Regions from separate parts of the Homo sapiens genome. Here region 1 is linked to region 2. Evidence: promoter capture Hi-C in human tissues and cell types (Jung and others, 2019). All regions are on one chromosome and are shown on one strand. Each heading gives the region's core, a stretch centred on a gene start or on the middle of the fragment in contact. The rest is flanking DNA. Distances are from core to core; before and after follow the strand shown. Region 1 overlaps FHIP1B (FHF complex subunit HOOK interacting protein 1B). Region 2 holds the start of OR56B4 (olfactory receptor family 56 subfamily B member 4).

The links. Contacts are between HindIII fragments. The study calls those that stand out against the background at their distance.
Region 1: a fragment that was not itself captured here is called in contact with the fragment with the promoter of OR56B4 in region 2 in 3 of the 25 tissues and cell types used here (bladder, neural progenitor cells and thymus).

Annotation. Positions count from the first base shown.
Region 1 is chr11:6,219,906-6,223,784 of GRCh38, reverse strand. FHIP1B (FHF complex subunit HOOK interacting protein 1B) reads left to right here. Exons shown (of 12, transcript NM_001098794.2): 3 at 1-175; 4 at 547-705; 5 at 888-974; 6 at 1,176-1,343. Among named protein-coding and RNA genes, the nearest start is that of FHIP1B, 13 kb to the left of the region's middle. The HindIII fragment of the contact is 7,709 bases long and covers 1-3,879 here.
Region 2 is chr11:6,105,898-6,109,595 of GRCh38, reverse strand. OR56B4 (olfactory receptor family 56 subfamily B member 4) reads right to left here and starts at 1,912. Exons shown (of 1, transcript NM_001005181.2): 1 at 761-1,912. The coding sequence starts at 1,817. The coding sequence ends at 858. The region is part of intron 2 of LOC124902622 (a long non-coding RNA gene); the gene reads left to right. The HindIII fragment of the contact is 6,854 bases long and covers 1-3,698 here.

The sequences.
Region 1 (3,879 bases), core at 352-2,851, 110 kb before region 2:
TCCTGAGCCTGGAGCCGCTCCCCGTCTTCTTCTCTTTTCTCGCCTTGTCCCTTTTGTGCATCGAGAGGGCACCCTGGGCCAGCAGGCCCGTGATGCCCTACTTCTTCTCATGGCTTTGTCAGCTGGGAGCCCCACTGTGGGCCGCTACATCGCGGATCACTCTTACTTCTGCCCGGTTAGCACCCCCTGGCTTGGAGGGTAGGGTGTGGTGTGTAGATACTGAACAGCACCTTCCTATCCAGGAGATGGGGAGAGGCTATGTTCCAGGGCCCGTTCCCCTAGGAAACAGTTCCTGGATTTGAAAGCAGCCCCCTGGAGTTGTAGTGGGGATGAATCATGGGCTTAGATGGATAGGGCAGATACTAAGTCTCTTTGTAGGCCTGTGAATTCTAGGTGAGTTTCAGGCACATTGGGTAGGCAAATGCTTGCTTTGGTAATAGCTTATACCCCTATTCCCATCAAAACTCTGGATTACTAGCTCCCCTGTTCCAGTTTTTATATTTTATAAATGTATTTTATATATGAGCTTTTGGTAACTTCTCATAGGTGCTGGCCACAGGGCTCAGTGCCCTGTACTCATCACTGCCTCGAAAGATTGAGGTTCCAGGGGATGATTGGCACTGTCTGCGACGGGAAGACTGGCTGGGAGTGCCAGCCCTTGCACTCTTCATGAGTTCCCTGGAGTTCTGCAATGCAGTAATTCAGGTAGGACTGAAAGTCTGGCCCTTGGTCATTTTTGGGAGATTAGGTAGGAGGGGGTATATTCCCTGGAGTTCTGTCATTTTTCCATCTTGGAAGTAGGATGCCTCTCTGTAGTGTACTATTCTACTCCCTTCCAGGCAGTGGTCTCCTCATAACCCTCCCCCTTCTCTCTGGCACTCCTACAGGTGGCTCACCCCCTGGTGCAGAAGCAGTTGGTTGATTATATCCATAATGGGTTCCTGGTGCCTGTCATGGGTCCTGCCTTGCACAAGGTGAGAGTCATGGGTGGCAAGGCATATAAGGGGCTAAGCTGCAGTGGTAACCTCAGTGACAGGACTAACGTAGGAGGCGGTGGGTAGAGTACTCCTCCCTTTTGCCCTGTCTGCTCCTGATTTCTCTTAGAATCCAGGGAAAATGGCCCTGTATGTGCAGGGAAGCTGTGCATTTCCAGACTTTCCCTTCTTTTTGTGCAGACCTCTGTGGAGGAGATGATCGCCAGTACCGCCTATCTGGAACTTTTCCTACGGAGTATCTCAGAGCCTGCTTTGCTCCGTACCTTCCTGCGATTCCTGTTGTTGCACCGGCATGACACCCACACCATCCTCGACACCCTCGTTGCTCGTATTGGCAGTAACTCCCGGGTATGGCCCTTACCCCTGTCCTAGCTTACCTGGATGACCCATCTTCTTTCTCTGACCTTTGTTCTGGGAGGGTATTCCTGCCCTTCTTTTGCCTGTATCTCCAGCAGTCACCTCAAAATTAAGTGGCATTAACTTTCCAGCATTAAACTTTTAACCATTTTGGGTACAGATTTTAATCTACTCCCCTGCTTTTATGATAGATGAATCTAGAACACAGTCACCTTTTCTGGATGACTTTGGCTGTTCATCATGACTATAGGTTTTGCTACTGTGCAGTGTTCGTAATGTAGTATTGGCCTGAGTTCTCTTAAACTGTTTATCACTCTGTGGCCTGCTTTGGGTGACTTGAGAGCACTTTAGGTTGTGTGTCTGCTTTGGTAGGTGATCCAGGTGCTACTGATATGCTTGCCTTCTTTCTCCTTTGGATTTGCTGCTTTTGAACTATAGCTTGGAGCACTCATCCACCCACCTATCTACTTTCGGTCCTTCCTCCTAAACATTTTTACTGAATGTTCACTGTGTGCCATACTGTTTGCTGGTGCTGGGGATACAGTGATAAATAAGGTAGACATTGTTGCTGACTTCATGGAGCTTACTTTGTAGAGAAGACAGACAAGCAAACACATTAATAAGTTGTGGTCAGGGTTATGAAAAAACTAGAGTGCTTAGAAATAATAGGGTGGCCAAGGAAGACCTCTCTGAAGAGATGACATTGAACTGAGACATAGAGATTATAAAGGAGTTAACTTATTGATCAAGTAGAAGAACAGGAAAGCAAGGGGAACAGCATGCAAAGGACATCAAATGGGGGAAGAGCTTAACATGTTTGAGGAAATGAAAGACTAGAGGTGTAGTGAGCAAGGGGAAGAAGGGAATGAGATAAAAATAGAGGGGTAAAATTCAGATCATGCATGACCTGGAAGACCATGGCAAGAAGTTTGGATATTAACAAATAGAAATATATATAACATGGGAGTGGGTGGTTTCCAAGTTATAAAGACTTAAGCCCCTCTAGGAGAATAAAGCATTAATTTTGCCATGGACTTCATGGCATTTATTTTGCCTCTGGGACCATTTTTGCTTCCTTTTTTTATTATAAGTTAAAGTTTCCTGGATCCATGTGTTTAAAATAGAAGTTCTTTCATCACTAAGAGCTCTGGAAAACTTCTAGATAATGAGATACTAGATAGTAGAGTTCCAGGTCAGTTTCCTGGATAGCTGTGTTTTGTATAGGTGCAGTTTCTGAAGCTAAGTTAGGGTGTATAAGAAATATTCCAGACTGACTGATTAAACCAGTGTTTCTAAACCAAGTGTATACTTTAGAAACGTCTGTGAATCTTTGAAGATGACAACTAACAACTACAACAGATTCTGAGCTCTACCTCAGATTTCGTGAATCTTTGGGAGTAGGCTCAGGACATGTGTATTTTTAAAATTTTCCAAAAAGTAATCATGATAGATGCCTTGGGTTAAGATTTATTGGAACCAATAGGGAATAGGTATTAAAGCTTTAATTTTACAAAGATACCAAAAGTATTTTTTTTCCCTCATTATGCTGAAATTAGGCCATGATTGGCCTCATATTGTCCTGTTCATGTTTAGAGACAGTTGATTTTCTTTTTGAGGTTTTATCTGTTGTTTCTTCCTTTTGTCTTATCCTAACTTTGATTCTTACTCACTATCTTTCATTTTTTTAGTAGTTGTTTCTATTAGTCTCCCATTTGGTCCCCTGGTCTTAGGAGCCTTACATGTTCTTGGGATGTTTCTTCTTGGTTCCTGGTTCTTGGAGGAACAGATCTCTTCTAATTTCAGGATGCCCGTGTTAAACATGTAGATGCTTTCCTTTCCACTGTGGTCCTTTCAAGCTTGATTCTTTGGCTTGACTTTGTAACGTATATAGCCTGCCTTGTGTGCCTTGAAGTGACTAATTTTGGCTAACCAGCCTGTGTTAATTCCGTATTGCTGTCATAACAGATTATCAAACCTAATGCTTAAAACAGATTTATTGTCTTACAGTTTTGTAGGTCATATGTATGACCTGGATCTCGCCAGGCTAAAATCAAAATTTTGGGGGGTGGGGTCTGTGTTCCTTTCAGGAGGCCGTAGGACAGGATCCATTTCCTTATTTCTATTGGCAGAATTAATTTTCTAGCAGTTGTGGCATTGAGATCTCTGTTTTCTTGCTGGTTGACAACTGAAGAACATTCTCAGCCTGTAGAGCAACCAGATTCCTTGGCTCATGGCCCCCCTTCATCCATAGATAATAGATATCTATGGATCTCTATTATCTGTGGATATCTAGGATAATCTCATCTAGGATACTCACATCTGCGAAGTCGTCTCTGCCACGTGAGGTGAAATATTTTTAGGGTCTGGAGATTAGGATGTGAGCATCTTTGAGGGACCACTTTTCTACCCACTTACTACTTTTCAGTGAGTCTGAATTTTTTCATTGCTAGCTAAAGTGGTCATTTAGGATAGCCTCCTGAACATCCATGCTATTCAAAATGTGAACTGCTGTCACGTGTTTTTCTTG
Region 2 (3,698 bases), core at 663-3,162:
AGAGCAAGACTGAGAGTAAGAATAGTGCTATGGTTTTTCAATCAGACTTCCCAGGACTTGAATCCCAGCTCTCCCACTTAGAAACTGTGCTGTCAGGGGGCAAGTTCTATAATTTCCAGTGCCTGAGTTTTCTTAGCTGGAAATTGGGAATAATATTGTACCTGCCCAAAGGGTTATTGTGAGAATTGAGTCAGATAATCTACATACATATTTTATCAAAGTTTCTGGCCTACAAGAAGTATTTAACACTTGTTAACCATTAATTCATTAATTATTGAGATTTTTTTGGGTACGAAAATTAAACTTTACTCCTTTTTAATAAACATTTATTGTTTACTTTTTATTATAAAAATTACATATGAAAAGCACATAAATATGTAAGAGTTAAATATGTGTAAATATTAAAGGCTTTGTTTTCTATTATTAGTCATATTATAATGATTTTTATGAATAACTTTTTGACTGCATTTAGACTATTTCTTTTGGATATTTTTCTAAAATAGAATTACTGGTTAAGAACATTTAAACATTTATAAACATTTTGATAAATTTTACCAAATTGCTTTTTGGTGTGTTTATAGTCCTACCAGTTGTGTAGGAAAGTGTTAATCTCGGGGTAGGCTAGCAGTAATAGTTAGAAACATTTCACTTTTTTGTTCTTACTTATTTTCCAGGTAATAGGAAATTTTCTTGTAATTTTAATATACATATTTTGATTAGTGAGGCTGACAGTTTTCATGATTTTATTGGCCATTTTTTTCCTAGGGAGTGTGGTAAGTGCAGATTATAACCCTGATCTATTGAGAACTAAAACCTCTGTCATTTCCTAACATCTTACTGGATTCCTAAAGCTGGAGTTACTTGGACACGTCCTGACCCAGTCCAAGCAGTCTCTGAAAGCCCAGTCTGAGTTTGTGCATCCTGAGTGCACAGGCCAGGGGGTTGAGTGCAGGGGGGATGACATTGTGCAGCACATTAAGGAACACAGGAATAAGGGGAATCTTTTTCTCTGCAAGGTGTGTGACAGACAGCACAATGATACCTGTGTGGAAGAGGATGAGGATGAGGTGGGAGCTACAAGTGCTCAGAGCCTTGGACATTGCTTCTGCTGAGTTCAGCCTCAGCACAGAGTGAAGGATTACAGCATAGGAAGAAAATACCAGAGCCATATCACTCCCAACCAAGACCCATGCTAGCATCAGTTGGTAAAATTTGTTCACAGTGATGTCATCACAAGCCAGGCTGATAACCCCCAAGTTAGAGCAGAGGCAGTGCTCGATTTCATTCCTGGAACAGTAGTGTCTCTGGGCAGCCAGTATAGGCACTGGGATGGTCAACAGGCCATTCCTGAGCATGATGAACCCTGTGGCTTTGAAGACAAAAGCTTTAGTGACTATGGAGGGGTACTGAAGAGGGCGACAGATGGCTATGTATCTGTCTACTGCCATGCAGAGAAAGATGCCTGACTCTATGCAGAAGAAGCAGTGGATGGCATAGATCTGAGCAAAACACATGGGGAGGCTAATGGCCTTGGCATCAAACCAGAAGATGGCCAGGATCTTGGGCATGATGGTGGTGGCCAGGCCAATGTCCACCACTGCTAATATGCCCAGCAAATGGTACATGGGTTCATGTAGCACGGTCTCATGTTGAATGGTGATTATGATGAGGAGATTGGCACCAAGAGCTAAGAGGTAGAGCAGAGTCAGGGGCAGGGAGAGCCAGTGCTGCCACTCATGAATGCCTGGTAATCCCATCAGGATGAACTGGGAAATCTGGAGGCTGGAGTCATAGGTAACACTGGTGGAGGTATCCATGGAATGGGTGCCTCAGTCTCAGTGTCTGTCTGAAATAGAAGAAATCTCTGTTTAAAAGTTCAGCTAAGGGGCTGAGCATCGTGGTTCATGCCTGTAATCCCAGCACTTTGGGAGGCTGAGACAGGCAGATAATTTGAGGTCAGGAGCTCGAGACTGACCTGGCTAACATGGCAAAATCTCATCTCTGCGGAGAATACAAAAATTAGCTGGGTGTGGTGGTGCCTGTCTGTAATCCCAGCTACTTGGGAGGCTGAGGCATGAGAATCATTGAACCTGGGAGGCGGAGGTTGCCGTGAGCCGAGATTGTGCCACTGCACCCCAGCCTGGACAACAGAGTGAGACCCTGTCTTAAAAAACAAAACAAAACAAAAAGTTAAGTGTCTTGGTAAGAGCTCCTCAATAATGAACCAGCTCCTTTTATTCATGAATGACCCTCAACTTTATTTGACTTCTGGAAATATTCCACAGAGGAATAACAAAAAAAGCAAAAAAATTCTAAACAGAAGAGTTGGAATAACTATTTTTCATCACCACTTGTATGTCTAATAAGCATGTCCACATATATTAACAACAGTCTTATCACTAACAGATAACAAATGTTAGTATTTGATTTATTTCCAATTTTCTATTTTATTTTTAAACAGTCTACATCATTATCTAGAGATGATTTTGTATCTTGTTTTTGTCTTTTAGCAGTATGTGTTAAGATGTAATATAAGCACTCAAAAATTTTATTTCATGGATGAATACATTAACCAAAGACTTCACAATATTATTTAAAAAGTGTGATGTTAATTTTAATTGCTGCTTTAAATTTTTGCATTTGGCTATTCTATAATTTACTGACAGGTATTTTGCTTTTAATATTGTTTTCCTTGAGTAGAGTTTCAAAAGTGATGCAAAAATTATATATACAAAGGATATAATAGTCTTAAAATTTTAAATATAATTTTGATTTTATTTTAAGATATATTATCTATACATGGTAAAAATCAAAATAAAATGAAAAATATAAACAATGAAAAGTAAGACTCTCATGCTTGGGGCTTTGAAATCTTTTTCCTTTTCACTAGAGGCAGCCAGTAATATGTTTCTTGGGAATCCTTCCATTAATAGTTTATGCATGGATAAAAACATATATATATATATATATATATATATATAATTTTCATAAAAGACATAATCAATTGTTAGCACACCTTTCTCCTTTTTTCTTTCCTTTTCTTTTTTAACTTAATATTTTGAAGACTGCTCCATATTTCCATACTGCAGTTAAGTTGCATTATTTTCTACCACCTAGATGCCCTATAGTTTAATGATTTTTTTTTGTATTTTTAGAATTGATATATCATATTTGTAGATATTTTGGAGGTACATGTGATATTTTGATACATGTATACAATGTGTAATGATCGAATCAGTGTAATTAGGATATCCATCACCTCAAGCATTTATCTTTTCTTTGTGTTAGGAACATTGCAATTCTCTTTTAGCGATTTTGAAACATACAGTAAATTATTAACTATAATTTTCCTACTGTGCTATTGAATACTAGAACTTATTTCTTCCACCTAACTGTATTTTTGTCCCCATCAGCCACCCTCTATTCTTCCCCTACCCCCACCCTTTCCGGCCTCTGGTAACCACCATTCTATTCATTACTTCTGTGAGATCCACTTTTTTTCTTTTTCCGGCTCACTGCAAACTCCACCTCCCAGGTTCAAGCGATTCTCCTGCCTCAGCCTCCCGAGTAGCTGGGATTACAGGTGTGTGCCACCACACCCGGCTAATTTTTGTATTTTTAGTAGAGATGGGGTTTCACCATGTTGGCGAGGCTGGTCTCAAACTCCTGACCTCAGGTGATCTGCCTGCCTTGGCCTC